4 separate regions of the Homo sapiens genome follow, and regions 2, 3 and 4 are each linked to region 1. The links are contacts of gene promoters, found by promoter capture Hi-C in blood cells and fetal thymus (Javierre and others, 2016). All regions are on one chromosome and are shown on one strand. The core of a region is centred on a gene start or on the middle of the fragment in contact, and the rest is flanking DNA. Distances in the headings are between cores, read along the strand shown.

What was found. The method cuts DNA at HindIII sites, captures the fragments that hold promoters and counts their contacts. A CHiCAGO score of 5 or more calls a contact.
Region 2: a fragment that was not itself captured here is called in contact with the fragment with the promoter of DCTD in region 1 in 1 of 17 cell types (endothelial precursors); the score reaches 6.4 in endothelial precursors.
Region 3: a fragment that was not itself captured here is called in contact with the fragment with the promoter of DCTD in region 1 in 4 of 17 cell types (endothelial precursors, naive B cells, total B cells and 1 more); the score reaches 14.6 in endothelial precursors.
Region 4: a contact is called between a fragment that was not itself captured here and the fragment with the promoter of DCTD in region 1, in 1 of 17 cell types (endothelial precursors). The highest score is 5.9, in endothelial precursors.

The regions. Positions count from the first base shown.
Region 1 is chr4:182,915,537-182,919,224 of GRCh38, forward strand. It overlaps DCTD (dCMP deaminase), which reads right to left and starts at 1,850. Exons shown (of 6, transcript NM_001921.3): 1 at 1,775-1,850; 2 at 1-39. The coding sequence starts at 32. RefSeq lists a silencer at 1,482-2,191. The HindIII fragment of the contact is 3,169 bases long and covers 1-2,950 here.
Region 2 is chr4:181,129,029-181,132,716 of GRCh38, forward strand. The region is part of intron 2 of LINC00290 (long intergenic non-protein coding RNA 290); the gene reads right to left. Among named protein-coding and RNA genes, the nearest start is that of LINC00290, 28 kb to the right of the region's middle. The HindIII fragment of the contact is 5,707 bases long and covers 1-3,688 here.
Region 3 is chr4:181,145,464-181,149,151 of GRCh38, forward strand. The region is part of intron 2 of LINC00290 (long intergenic non-protein coding RNA 290); the gene reads right to left. Among named protein-coding and RNA genes, the nearest start is that of LINC00290, 12 kb to the right of the region's middle. RefSeq lists an enhancer at 1,338-2,537. The HindIII fragment of the contact is 1,308 bases long and covers 1,433-2,740 here.
Region 4 is chr4:181,164,509-181,168,196 of GRCh38, forward strand. No RefSeq gene overlaps it. Among named protein-coding and RNA genes, the nearest start is that of LINC00290, 7.2 kb to the left of the region's middle. RefSeq lists an enhancer at 2,103-2,934. The HindIII fragment of the contact is 1,042 bases long and covers 1,607-2,648 here.

The DNA of each region.
Region 1 (3,688 bases), core at 600-3,099:
TCGTCCCGTTTCTTGCAGGAAACTTCACTCATGTTGGGTCTAGAAGAAAAACATGACAAAACAGAAGTTGAGAGAAGCATTTTAGTAAGTCTGTTTTCCAGTTCAACCCAACCACACTGAACCTTTAAATCTCTAAACATGGGCAACTTCAGCTACATTTATCAATCAGAAATCACAGCACATGGGCCCTAAACAGTCTCTGGTCTTAAGTAAAAACTTAAGAAATTTCCTATTTCAGAAGTTTGAATTTGAAACCTATAGCTTCACGTTCCCAAATATTTCATCTATTTACTGCTTTCTCATAGGATTTTTTATGCCAGCCTACAAATTGTTGTGTCCTTTACCTGTCTCCCTTACAAAGCGGAGTCAGCACAGGAGGAGGGTGGAAAAAAGAAATATTTATTGATCATCTATAGATTCCAGACATTGTTAAAGTTTATACACATCATGTCACTCAAGCCTTACTCCTAGCTAAGGTAGACAGTGCCATCCCATCTTACACAGACTCAGAGAACTTAGGTAACTTAACCTAAACCACACAGGATTATCATCCATGCCAGACGGATTCAAAGAAAACATCTGAAGCCTTCCCAACTCTGATATTAACCAGATAATTTTTCCCTTCCCTTTCTCCTCAATAATCCAGATGGGACAGAAGTTATCAACTCCGAGTAATGAATTACATGAGAAGAAACTATGAAAAACGTCAAGTGCTACTCCTAAAGCAAGGTTTTTGGAACGTAGTTTACCAGGGGCAAGCAGAGACTGTCTACGGCAGGGAGAGCCCACGAAGGGGGTCCTAGGACTTCAGGGGAGTGGTCGCTTTCAAAAGGAATGAAACAAGGGCAAGGAAGGAAGACAACACAAAAACGGGGTGGGTACCACGGAGAAATCTTGAGAAAGGCGAGGAATGTGGTCTAAAGGAAGGCAAGCATCTCCCAAAACTTCTGCTTCAGGCTCCACACTTTATTTAGGCATCTGCTACAGTGCAGGGCGGCAGTGCCTAAGACAAGGATGCAGTGGAGAGTGGGTGCTGGGAACCACGGTCACCCACTGATTACGCTGCCCCACATCTGAGAGGCCTGGCAACCCCCCTAACAGGAAAAGACAGGTGCTGAATCAGCCTGGTTTCCCACCTGGCTTTAGGGCCAGCATCCATCATCGCTGTGGGGTGCTGGAGAAGTACCTACTAAATAGGAGGGAGGGGGAGCCATGGGGGGCGAGGGAAGAGCAGGAGAGGGAAGGGTCCTGTTAATCCCCTGGGCGCCTTCTCCTGGTGTGGCTGAACGCCCACTAGAGCCCTGTGAGGACTGAGGCCCAGCTGTAGAAACAGAGAGAACTGGAGCTCGAATACAACGATTCAGGAAGACACATCCGGTCACCGTCCCAGGCACACCCCACGCCGCTCGCAACCCCGTCAGCTCTGATCCAGGGCCTACACCCGGCATTCCCAACCCACACACGGGCGCAGGAAGGGATGTGGTGTTCAGACGCCCAGCACCACCTCCCGGGGCACTCCAAGGGGCCCGGCCTCGCACAGGCCGCGGCGCCCGCCGAGAAATCGACCCTGGAGTGACTGCGGGGACCCCGAGCGCCCCCACCCCGCCCGCATTCTCCGATCTAAAGGCTGAGCGCGGCCGAGGCGCCCCCAGCGTCCGCGGCCCCAGGCCCCCGCCCGGCAGCCAGCGCCCCGCGCCACGCGCTCGGGACGGTGCCACGCGGCGGTGGCTAGGGGCGCGCGGGCCGCGTACCCGCACGGCTGGCCCCCGCCCACCATCCGGTGCCGGCTCCGCGCGCAGGCCGGTGCTCGTCCCCGCCGCCGCCGTGCTCAGGGAAGGAAGTCGGGGGAGGAGGCGGGGCCGCCGCGGGGCCGGAAGGGGGCAGCGGCCCGGGCGCCGCGCGTTCGCAGGACGGCGGCTGGCCCCGGGGGCCCGAAGCCCTGAGGGGAGGGAGGGAGGGACGGCGGGGGCGGGTCGCACGCCGCAAAGGCGCTGCTCCGCGTCGCCGTACGCCTCCCGGTCCCCGTGACGCAGCCCGCGGTCCGGCCGGCGGTGTTCAGAGCCCGAGCACAAACTACTTCCCGGGTGCCAGACCGCCCCGAGGTCGCCCCGCTGCCCGGGTCACGCGTGGCGCTGGGTGGCCGCGAGTTGGGCGCTCCCGGGCCTGACTGCACGACCGTCGGGGGCTGCTTGGTTTGGTGGTGGTGGCGGTGGTGAGGTTTTCCCCACCATCCGTGTTCCATCAACTGCTTAGAGACACGGCTATGGAGATTGTGATTAAAAGACGACCCCAAGAATCTAGTGCCGTGAAACTGGCGGGGCGGGAGGTGGGGAGACCTGGTTTGGGTCTCTGGAGTGAGCCCGCTGTGTCGCAGCGTCCCCGTGGGGACCCTTGGCCGGTGGCTGGGTCACAGTTTCACACACTGGATGGGGCAGGGAACTGGGTCCGGCGGGGGCGCTGTGCCTCGAGGCTCAGTGCCTCGAAGCTAGATTTGCATTTGGCTGCGCCTGACAGGCTTTCAGTTTCTGCTCAAATTGTGCGGAAGGGCCTGAGGTGTTTGCTAAAGCCTGCCGCGCCCTGCTCGACCCGTATCACCGCACAGGCACCCCACCTGCATGTTACCTCCTGGTAATGCTCGCCCACTTATATAGTGCACATTTTGTTGCAGTTGTTTCAAAGATGAGAAAAACAGGGCAATAGGAAAGACCATCAGTGACATTTCTGGAGTCGTATGCCCCAAGCAACTTAATCTGGTTTTCATGAACTTCGTTACCCTGTGCAGACGTCTAGCCCCTTACAGTGGTTCTAGCACAGAGAATGACAGAAGAACCCCTTTCTGTTTCATTCATGGGACTTGAGGGGACTGTCAGCACTCCATAAATAACAGCTACTGTAATAATCGCCAGTTCTGATCTGCACATCCCAGATTTGAACTGCTATTCCAAACAAAAGCTTGTTAACTATATTAATTTAGCCTAACGGAGGAAGAATGATGAGAGTAAACAGTTGGTTCTATCTAATTTCTCACTACAGCAGACACATCATTCTTCATCTCATGGTCCAGCTTGTAGATTCAATAATTAAATTATGTACTGCTCTTGGTGGATGCCGGGAAAGCAAAAGGGAGAAATACTTCATCGTTAACTATAGATTTTTTTTTTTTTTTTTTTGCCTTGATAAGACTCAGGCTTGAAAGAGCCACATAGATTAAGATGATGATTTTTAATTTCAAGTTGACTTTACATGGCTGTCTTGTTGCCGCTAAAATGTGTCATATATCCCGAGCCCCTGGTTTCCCTCCTCCTCCCAAATCCACCGCTTGGTCTTTGTCACACTCATCTACAGTCTTTGGGTCTTCATAGATCCATTTCTCTTCTTACCAACCTACAACCCATACATCACCAATTGCTGCTGCTCCTTCAACCACAACATCATTAAGCTTTCTTCCTTCCTCTGCTCGGTAAAGACTGTCATACATAATTTAGTTACTTCTCATCACTCTCCATTTTGGTCAACTCACACACTCCCCTCTGCCATAAATTCAAGCTCCTGCTTGCTGAAAACACATTACCCTGAATGTTCCCGCATTTCACTGAAAGTCCCTCATCTTAAAGATGACATCATTCATAATACAGGAAACCCTCCTGGTTCAGAGTTTCACAACTTGAGGTTTCAAATATTGTACACC
Region 2 (3,688 bases), core at 411-2,910, 1.8 Mb before region 1:
TCCCTACACAGCCCACACACCCACACAGCTGAAGCAGTCTCCTTTATTCCCTCCACCCATCCTAATCCATCTCCACAGCCTCCCAAGGGTAACATAGCCCACCTTACTCACCAATATCTTCTGTGGACCATTTTGCACAGAAAATTGGAACTGCAGCATATTAGTCTGTTTTCACACTGCTATAAAAAATACTACCCAAGACTGGGTAATTTATAAACAAAGGAGATTTAATTGACTCACAGTTTCCCATGGCTGGGAAGGATAGTCACGGTGGAAGGAGAAGCAGGCACTTTCTTCACAAGGCGGCAGGAAAGACAGCGGGAGCAAAGGGGGAAGAGCCCCTTACAAAACCATCACATCTCATGAGAATTCACTCACTCTCATGAGAACAGCATGGGGGAATGCTGGGGTAATTGGACCCAACATCAGGTCATGGGGGCAACAAAGTCAGGTGGAGTCAAAGGAATGAGAAAAGACAGTTTGAGAGAGAAAGTGGGATCAGGGGGCCATCGCTAAGTATGGAGGCTGAGAAGTCCCTGAGTTCTGGAAGCCCGGACTATTTATTACTGATCAAACAATGAAACAGGTGGAGAGAATGTGGGGGGTCGAAAGGGAGCATTGCATTAATCACATGATTTACAGCTGTGATGGTTTAGCATTTATATGGCCAACTGTAAGACACAATCAATCTAGGAGCCTGGGAGGGCTAGAAGCAAGGAGCCAGCAAGTCTAGACACATTCCAGAGCCAGGAGCCTGGGATTTCATCCAAGCCACGAGGGGTTTTCTGCCCTGGGCTTAGATTATGGTGCGTCAGGGTAGACTTCCACCCTTTAGCACAGAGTTTGGTGTTCCAAAGGCCACAAGGGGTTTAAGACCCTGGACCCCGGACATGTTCTAAGACTCTTTTACATTACGTCAGACATGCAAGCCCTGCCTCAGCTTCTCCCAACACTCAGCTTTTCGCAACAGGGGAAACTGTCCCTATGATCTAATCACCACCTATCTGGGGAACCAGCCCCCAGTATTTCAACATAGGTTCTTTTCTATTTTCCCTAAGTGTCGGCTGGTCTGAGAAATAAAGAGTACAAAAGCAAGAAATTTTACAGCTGTGTCTCCGGGGGTGACGTCACATGTCGGCAGGTTCCGTGATGACCCCCTGAGCTGCAAAACCAGCAAGTTTTTATTACGGGTCTCAAAAAGGGGAGGGGGTGTACGAATAGGGTGTGGGTCACAGAGATCACGTGCTTCAAAGGCAATACGATATCACAAGGGCAGAGAGGCAGAGTGAGATCACAAGGCCAGGGTGAAACTAGAATTACTGATGAAGGTCCATGTCCTTCTGGGCACACATTGTCATTGACAAACATCTTAACAGGAAACAGGGTTCGAGAGCAGACAATCGGTCTGACTAGAATTCGCCAGGCTGGAATGTCCTAATCCTAATAAGCCTGGGAGCGCTGCAGGAGACCAGGGTGTATTTCACCCCTTATCTATAACTGCATAAGACATAAGACAGACACTCCCAGAGCGGCCATTTTAGAGACCTCCCCCTGGGAATGCATTCGTTTTCCCAGGGTTATTCTTTGCTGAGAAAAGAATTCAGTGATATTTCTCCTATTTGCTTTCTGAAAGAAGAGAAATATGACTCTGTTCTGCCCGGCCTAGCAGGCAGTCAGACTTTATGGTTATCTCCCTTGCTCCCTGAAAATCGCTGTTATCCTGTTCAAGGTGCCCAGATTTCATATTGTTCAAACACACAGGCTTCACAAACAATTTGTACAGATAACACAATCATCACAGGGTTCTGAGGTGACATACATCCTCAGCTTATAAGGATGACAGGATTAAGAGATTAAAGACAGGAGTAAGAAATTATAAAAGTATTAATTTGGGGAACTAACAAATGTCCATGAAATCTTCACAATTTATGTTCTTCTGCCATGGTTTCAGCCATTCCCTCTGTTCGGGTTCCCTGACTTCCCGCAACAACCACCCACCAGGTCTTTCCCTTAACACCTGGGGATTACAATTCGAGATGAGATTTGCGTGGGGACACAAAGCCAAACCATATCCTATCGGATGTATTGCCCCATTAGTGTCATGTGGGCCTTGACATACTGTCCACATCTTATCTGCTACATCACCTGGCAGGGTGCCTTCATTTGGGAGCAGAATCTTAAAATACAGGTCTTACCTATTATTAAGTACCTCAATAAAATGGTGTTAATTCGTTTAAAAGGCCCTTCCATTACAACTATAATAAGTGTTTATTAAGAGTGTGTGTATGTGTGTGTGTGCATTTTAGAAAAACTGATGGTCATGTTAACCAAGTTTTTAGTAGAACTCTGAGAGCCAAAAGTATCGTGAGACTCTCAAAAGCCACAGAAGAAATCGTAATTTGTCTTCCCTCACCTGAGAAAGAGACAATTCCAAAAACATCTCTCTTGACTCAATTGATTTCCATAGGCCTTAAATCTTTTGCTTATTTCTCTAATATATGCATTAGTTTATCTCCAAAATAACAAAAACTGAGGACCTAATAATGTTGGATCTTGGATCATACCACTTTCCTCATCTTGGCTGACCTCATTTTTTCTGACAGTGTAGGTTGGAAAGACAATAAGCAATGCCTATTTCAGTGTTGCCCTAAAATTTGTGTGTGTAGCCAAAGGGAGGCAGAGAGAGAGTAATCATTATAAAGACTCTCTCACAGTGCATGTAGCCCAATCTAAAAGCAGATGATGTCTTTCCAGACAGTGGTCAAGAGAAGAACCAACCAACGGACAGAAAGTCACAGCTGCTCTTTTTAATTTTTTTTTAATTTTTGTGATTACGTAGTAGGTATGTCTTGCTCTTGACCTAATGCTGAGGGAAATACACAGCAAGAACCTGGCCTCCCTTTGCCTGAGCCCAGCTGATTAATTGGAACAGGCATGCCCACATTCATTTAAGCAACTTTGTTCAAAATTAAAGGAGTATAGGTAGAAATAATTTATTTGGAGCCTTTCTTCTGGGAAAATACAAAGGCTAAGTGTAATAAAAAGAAGGAAAGGGAAATGAACTGGTGTGGGGACAAACTTCCAGGGAATCATTTATAAAAGTAAAAGTGGAAATTAGAAAATATGTGTAAAGTGTGAAACTCTGTGGAGTCCTATACAACCTAAAAGCAGAAACTGGGGAGGGGCAAACCTAAAATCGTACTCACAGGCATGTGGGAGATTCTGAATACACCCGTTTCCAAGGAGGGGCCAAACAGTCACAGAGAAGGACAGCCTCTCTCTTCCGACTTGACTAGATTTGTTGTCTAACAAAACTTTTTCGGCACCTTGTCAAGGAATACATTTTCTCAGAGTTGAGAATTTAATTCTTTTTAAAGAGCACAATAATACAGCATGGAAGCCTTTAGGGTGAATTTGCTCTTTGCAGGAAGAGCTCCAGTGGCAACCAGGGGCCATGGTGTTCTGTATCCCCAAGTGGGGTCCGGCTCTGTGTTGAGGGTTCAATGAAGGCGTCTTCTGAAGGGCCAGAGGAAAGGGCTGTTGATAGTCTTTTGGCAATGGTGAAGTGCCACTTGGGAATAGTGTTCCTGGGAGAGGGGACCTGTGGTCCTCACGTTAAGTAGAGCTAATGAAAAATAGACTCCAGCCCAAAGAGAGCTCTGGGAGTGAGCTTTCAATAAATCCAAAG
Region 3 (3,688 bases), core at 837-3,336, 1.8 Mb before region 1:
ACGGTGAGCACCCACTCTGTGCCAGGCACTTGCCAAGTCGAAGGTGGTTTCCCAGTTGTTCCTAGCACTGCTTTCTTCAGCCTTCTCTAACGGAAGGGAAGCTCTCGTAGCTTACTACTCTAAGCCATGCTATGCTCCTACTAGATTTCCCTCTCAGAGAATGACCTTTCCTGATCTTGTCCCTCAGCGCTGAAGACATCCTATTAATTCCCCTTTGCACTGCCTACAATTACTACCAATGGCAGCTACTGCGCAGCCAACTGAGAAATGAACCCCCATGGAAATTGCCATCCTTGCCCAAGGCTAACAGAGGTCTCTGGCAGGTCCTGGTGGACTTGTGAAATATTAAATATGTTCCATATTCTTTGTACATTAAAAAGTCAAATCTGAGAAATCTCCTTATGCATTAAGTATCTGTGTCTACATGATATTACACTCAGCACTCAGCACTGTAAGAAGAGATTTAGTTATAGTCTTATTTCCGTAGAATCTGTCAAAAGTAGACCATGAGCCTAAACAAATCTGAATATAAAGACAATCTATATAAGGGCAAAAAATGCAGACAATTGAGCAATGCAAAACATTGGTTAATGTAACTTGCTGTCCATTTCAAGAACAAGTGCATTAGCAGAGCAGTGAGGAGTGAGAGAGCCTTAAGTGGCTAATGCTCACACCCGATGGTGCAGAGGGAAGCTATTAGACCTTTTCCAAATAGTTCTGGAAGACTGTGTACAGGAGCTGGGATTTCATGAGCTATTTGGATGCTAGAAGAGAGATAGCTTGGCAGACAGAAAGAGAGAGCATTCCAAGAATATGGCACAGTTTGGAAAAGGCTTGTGTGGAATGACTAGGTGATGGAGATATTAAGCCAATTGGCTTGAACTGAGTGGGGGCTCCTTCCAAGGAAGGATTTCAAATTTGATTCAAAACAAAATAATGGCTTTCTGTAACATTATTATGACAACTAACAATATATTTTTGAATCCAGTGTGTGCTACACAAATCCAGACTCAGGTCCTGGAGTTCCTAGGATAAGAAGTCTCCTGAGTAATGATGGGAGAATAAGACACGGGAAATAACAGCATCAGCTACCCTCAGGCATAAGCATGGCTACCCCCACTCCACCTACTCCAATCCATGGAGCCCAAGAAGCAAACCGGCAGGACAGCTACTATAGAAGGAGAAAGGGTTGTCCTCAACCCATTGCTGGGAGGAAAGAGAAATGGGGCCTCAGTCTTGGCATCCCTGCTCCTGTCTTTGGTGTTGTGTTCATGAGCACTGAAGTTCTGAACACAGGGCTCAGGGGCCCTGGGCCTTGAGAGGAAGGCCACGGTCTATACCTGCCTTGTGTTTCACTTCAAAACCTAAGTAAGAAGGTATTTATCGACTGCCATGCTTTTGAAAATTCTAAGAATATTTGTCGCTTTAAAGAAGCTTATCAGCTAAATGAAGAGAGAACTCATATCCATTTGAGAAGTTACAGAAGGACAATAAAATTAAGAACTGTCACAAAGAGACACTCTTGCCTGTCAAATGATGGGATCTGACAAGTGTGGAGGAAGGCAGTATTACTTTAGGTTGGAAAGACCATTAGGCGGAGCTAGAATATGAGTGTGTCTTCAAGAATGAGTCAAATTTAAACAACCAGGTAGGGCAGAGCATTGTGGGAAGGCACAAAACCTCAGAGGAAAAACATGGTGGCCAGAAAGGCAGGTCAAGATGGAAGGGCACTACCATGCTGTCCAAAGCAGAAGGGCCTAGAGGACGTCAGAGGGAGAGGAGGCAGGAGAGGAGGTGAGGGCTTCATCCACGACAGGAAATTGAGCTCATTTCCTCTGTTGTTGCAAGGAATGAACTCATCAGAGATCAGCACTTTTTGCCCAAGTTCTGCGAAAGAAAAGTTTATATTTTGAAAACCTTTAATAAGTTATTTTTTCCCTTTCCTAATACAGTGTTGAATTGCCAGTGCATAGCGGAGGTAAATCATCCACCCAATGAGATGATTTTGCTAGCACCATCTGAAGAGCTACCAGATAATTTGTCTTTGTGAAGGGCCGTAAGCATATTCTTGAGCTCTGCTACTGCTCCCAGAGCAAGCACCTTGCGGAAGGGCTCTGGAGTGCAGCATTTGGCACGTCCCGCTGCTCCGGCCATCTGCTGCACCTTACAACGTGGTCTGGCAATTCAGAAGATGGCACGGGCGGCCCGCAATATATCCATATGTTATTCTCCTCCTCCTCGCTTGAGAAACAGAACAGCCATCTTCAAGACACCACCAGGAATTCCAAGTCACGTGACTTCCTTTGTTTCCTCCAGACCAAAGATATCAACATTTATTTTAAAAGGGCAAAAACACACAGCCAGTCAGTCTGAACAAAAACCCTGTGAAGGTGTTATTACCTTACTAGTTAGCCTCAGAGTATGGGAGAGGGAATTCCCGCTCTCCTCACCCCCCACAAAAAAATGCCAACTAATGTTGAGTGCCCTTACCTGACTTGGGAGGAGTGGTTCCCGGGTATAGTAAGGGTTTCTGTGAAGTTATGATCAGCATCACTACTTTTTGTAGTTGTGTACGAGATTTTGTAACCTAAAGCCTTGCGACTCAACGTTGGTCCATGGACTAGAAGATTCTGCGTCGCCTAGGAGCGGGTTAAAAATTCAGAATCTAAGACCCACCCAGATCCTCTGAATCAGAAGCCGTATTTTCACAATGCCCCCAGGTGATTCGGGGGCACATTAAAGCTTGGAATGTACTGATCTGGAAGAGGATACTCAGAAAAACTTCCGCCCATGTAGTTTTGAAGATTCTGGGAAAAATAAACTTGATATAATAAATGAAGTAGGACTACTATGCCATCTAGGAATTTGTACAGAATGCTTACAGAGATTTTTTAACTCATAAACTTTATTCCCCAAATAAAGTTTTTCTTGTTTTTGTTTTTGTTTTGTTGTTGTTGTTAATAATAAGTGAGTCCATAGCATTTATCCGAGGAATCCATACCCACAGAAGTAAAAGGACATCCCAGGGTTATGTTATCAGCCCCCCTCCCTCCTTAGGAAGCATTCACTGGAGAACTTCTCTGGAGCCTTGTTTCAATCTGAGATCTGCACTGAACTGACCACTTCTTGATTCAGGACACTGAAATCTCTGCATATGGGTTTATTTAGAGGAGAGGCTGCGAACGCTAAAGATTTGCTTGTTAACCTTATCAGCAGCTGCTGTGTGCTGTGGTCCAGTGCTCTAATCTGGGTGTCAGGCCTGGGCACGGCATCCTCCACGCTGGTGGCTGCCTTTTCTTCTCCTGCTGGCCGAGTCTGCTGTGGACTCTATTAATGAGGGGTTTGAAACCCCCTTTGGCAGGGAAGAGTGTCTTCCTGCTTGCAGTTTGAATTGAAAATGAATTCCCTATTTGCACAGTACCATGACACTTCGTATAATATCATTTACTGTCCCCCAGGCAGGAGTAGTTCTGGACAATACTTCTTAAACACTTTATGCCCAATATCATGTGGGTTACAGTCGCTCATATGGAAAAGAAAAGGACAGTTTAAAGCTTGAACAAGAAGAACAAAAATGCCTCCTAGGCCTCCAAAATGTCCACCTAAGATTCCAGCTTTTAAGGCAGAAAAATGACTAACAGGGACCATATTTTGAAATCATTAAAAGTGGATGTGTTTAGCCGAGAAA
Region 4 (3,688 bases), core at 878-3,377, 1.8 Mb before region 1:
ATAATCTGACTTCTATGAGTCTATGAAATTAAAAGGGAGAGGATTAGATATAGTGTCTTTCCACAAGAAATCACATAAACAAGGAAGTTTATTTGGTTTATTTTGAAGAAGGTAGAATTATTTCTAAAAACTTGAGAGAGATTTAAAAAAAACCTTTTAGGTGACATAAAATCAGAATCTAAAATATTTCATTACTTTCATGAAAACTTACACGTTTCACCTCTTATTATGTAAAACTCTAGCTAGGTTCATCTTTTTTGGAAGATATGAAATGGACCTATGAAAGGAAACCTTTTTTTCCAAGGTAGAATGGTACAAAGTTTTCCAGAAGTTTAGCAGATTATTTTTGACTTAGTTATCAATGTAGAAGAAGAATGAAAAGATGGTGAAAATGTTACTTGTTGGCAAATATCTCTATTTCTTTAAAAATAATATACTTTTGCCAGGTTAATTAGCAATAATTACTTTTAATAAATAACCAGGACGGGGCCCAGTGGCTCACTTTTGTAATCCCAGCACTTTGCGAGTTTGAGATTAGCCTGGGCAACATAGCAAGACCCTATCTCCAAAAATAATGAAATGTTTGAAGAATATGTCAAGCCTGATGGTCTGCACCTGTAGTCCTAGCTACTCAGGAGGCTGAGGCAGGAGGATTGCTTGAGCCCAGAAGTTTGAGGCTACAGGGAACTAGGATTGGGCCACTGCACTCCAGCCTGGGCAACAGAGTGAGACCCTGTCTCAAAAATATATCCATATATATATATATATATATATATATACGTGTATATATATATAGCCAATTCCTTAACTCCTTGTATTACCTCTGAAGCCTCAAAAAAGATAATACTCAAATAAGCAATTTTTCTCAATGGACAAAGCAGAAAGCTGCCTGCCTCTTGTGCTATTAGGAATGTCTTGTGATATCAGGAAAGCACTCTACCCTAAAACTTCTGTTCTCCTAACCTCAAGGCATAGCACAATCACTATTACAATTGTAAGAGCAACAATAACATCATAATACATATAGCCTCATTTATGAGTACTTACTATGTGCCAGGCACTCTACGAAGCATTCAGTATGGACACAATTGATTTTAATTCTCGTATCAACACTGTAATCTAGGTATTATTATCTCTGTTGCAAAGATGAGAATGCTGAGGTATAGAGTGGTTGAGAAGCTTGTCCAAAGTCACACAGCTAGTAAGCGGTAGGACTGTTTTTTTAAAACAAAGTCTGCTTAAATTCAAATCTTTTGAAATTCATTTCTGTGGATTTTTGAAGCCTTATTATTCCCTATAAGAATGCAAATATCTTGTCACTATGACCTCACTGCTGGAAAAAAGGAAGCAGTGAATTTCTTAGTAATTTTCCTATCCAATAGTTATAACTGGGAGACTGTAGCGTTCTTTGGAGAGTGGATTTTAGGATAGGTTTGTTTTACTATACTTTGCTTTTGGGTGGAGGGTGAAGAGATAAGTGCAGAGGATGAAGTCTTGTCAATATAGACAGTGCTTTAATAATACGCTACCTTGAGAGAGTACCTGATAACAAGCGGATAGGCAGTAGATGACAGAGACAGAAGAACGATACGGGTACATCCAAAAAAGCTTCACCCACTTTATAAATTTGCTCAGAGGGAACCTAGGCAGAAAGCCAATTCTCTACTTATTTTCTGGATCCAGTCTCATTACATTAAATGTATACACACATCCTTCTGCTCATAGTCCATTGGTCAAAGCGAGCCACGTGGACACATCCAGTTCCAAAGAGCACTCCTATCCTCTCGTGGGCCCAGAGAGAAGAGAACTAGAGGAGTAATGAACATTCGTACTAACTACCGTCATAGTAACTAACATAGTTACACATATGGAAAAATGAAATAAACCTAGCCCCTTTTTTCAAATATAAGTTATATTTTTGATGAGTTAAAGACATAAATATTAAAAATCAAATTTTAATACATTTAGAAAATAGAGCAGAATGTCTTATGACATTGAGGTAAGTGATAATTTCCTTAAAAATGAAGAATACAGACTCCTAACCAACAATATTAGTAACTATCATTGCATTGAAATGAAATACCTTTTGCAGGACAACAGTATGTTTTTAAAAAGGAAAAAATATAAGCCACACACAGAGACAAAAGCAACCCATATGGGCAATAACAAATTAATTTCCAGAGCACATAAAACATCTGAAAATCAATATGAAAAAGACAGCTAACTTAATATACAAATAGACAATAAATACAAACAGATAAGCCATGAGAAATGAAGAGACCGTCATTACACAGTGAATGCTCAACCTCACCTAGAATCAACAAAATGCAAATGCCACTGAAGTACCATTACAGACCCATCTGGAGGCGAAAGTTCAGAAGTTTAACAAGACCCCTGTTGGGGGAATATGAATAGATGGGAGTTCCCTTATATCCCGGATGGGCATGTAAATTTAGCTTACTCACTTTACATAACAAGTTGGCCTCAGGGACAAACCCCGTATCCCACTTCTTTTATTTCCCCTCTTAAATAATACACAAGTGATTGTGTTTAGGGTTGTTTGCAGTAGCACTGTTTGTAATGATAAAAACTTGAAAGCATCCACAGAAGAACAGATGCATCCGTTGGAATCCACTCCCTAAGAAGTAAGCTTTCCAATAGCAGCCACTTTTTCTATTTTGTTGGCTGTTAAGTCTTCATCACCTAGAAGAATGCCTGGAATGTAGTAGGTGCTCAATAAATATTTAATTAACTGAAGAAACAAATGATGAGATAATTGAAATACTATAAAGAATCTAAAATGAATGAACCAGAGTTACACGTATCAATATTGATATTCCTCAAATTAATGTTGAGTGAGAAAAGCAAGTTGAAGGATATGTAACTAAGAAATCATTTTTATAAATTATAAAACACGTAAAATACTCTCTATTGCTTATAGAGAGGATAAACATATATACAAATATCAAAACCCGACAAGAAGGACAAATTCAGGAAAGCATTTGGGGTCTAGCAGAGTGTTTATGAGATCAGAGAAACTAAAGGCAACCATAATCTTATTCGTATTTTTTTCTACAAAAGCTGATATGACAAGTTAGTATTTTTTAAGCCTGCATATTGCAAAGTATCTCAAGTTTTGAAAATATTGGTTTCTGTACCTCTTTTTGTATAAAATATGCAATGACAACATTATTTACTGAGAGTACTCAGCATACCCATATTAAATTCATGAAGCAACTGAGTAGGCAATTTTGTTTCTTAATAGAGTATTGTAATTTATTATACTTTGATATTCAGTAGCTTGGCAACTTATTTTAATAATTTACTAATTTCAACTATTCTATTCAAATTTCACCGGTTTAAAATATCGGTATAATTTTGTGGCTAGAGAGCACTGAACTATGTTGCAGAAGTTCATTACTGTCTTCTAGAATCTCATACGGACTGTTACATTTATATCTAACAGTAATTAATTAATAAATGCCCATGTGTAAATTACAGTATTCTGGCTAGAGTACAAAATTCTTCTAGTCTTGTCCCTGCCTTTTAGAAGCTTACCACTGAAAGTCTTTAAATGTAGAAAAGATTTCGTAATACACAAAAAGAAAAGCTACATTCGTTCAAGACATTATTTCTCAACATTTCTGTGGCTTGATATTTGCTCTTTGTTCTTCTGCATTTATAGCTC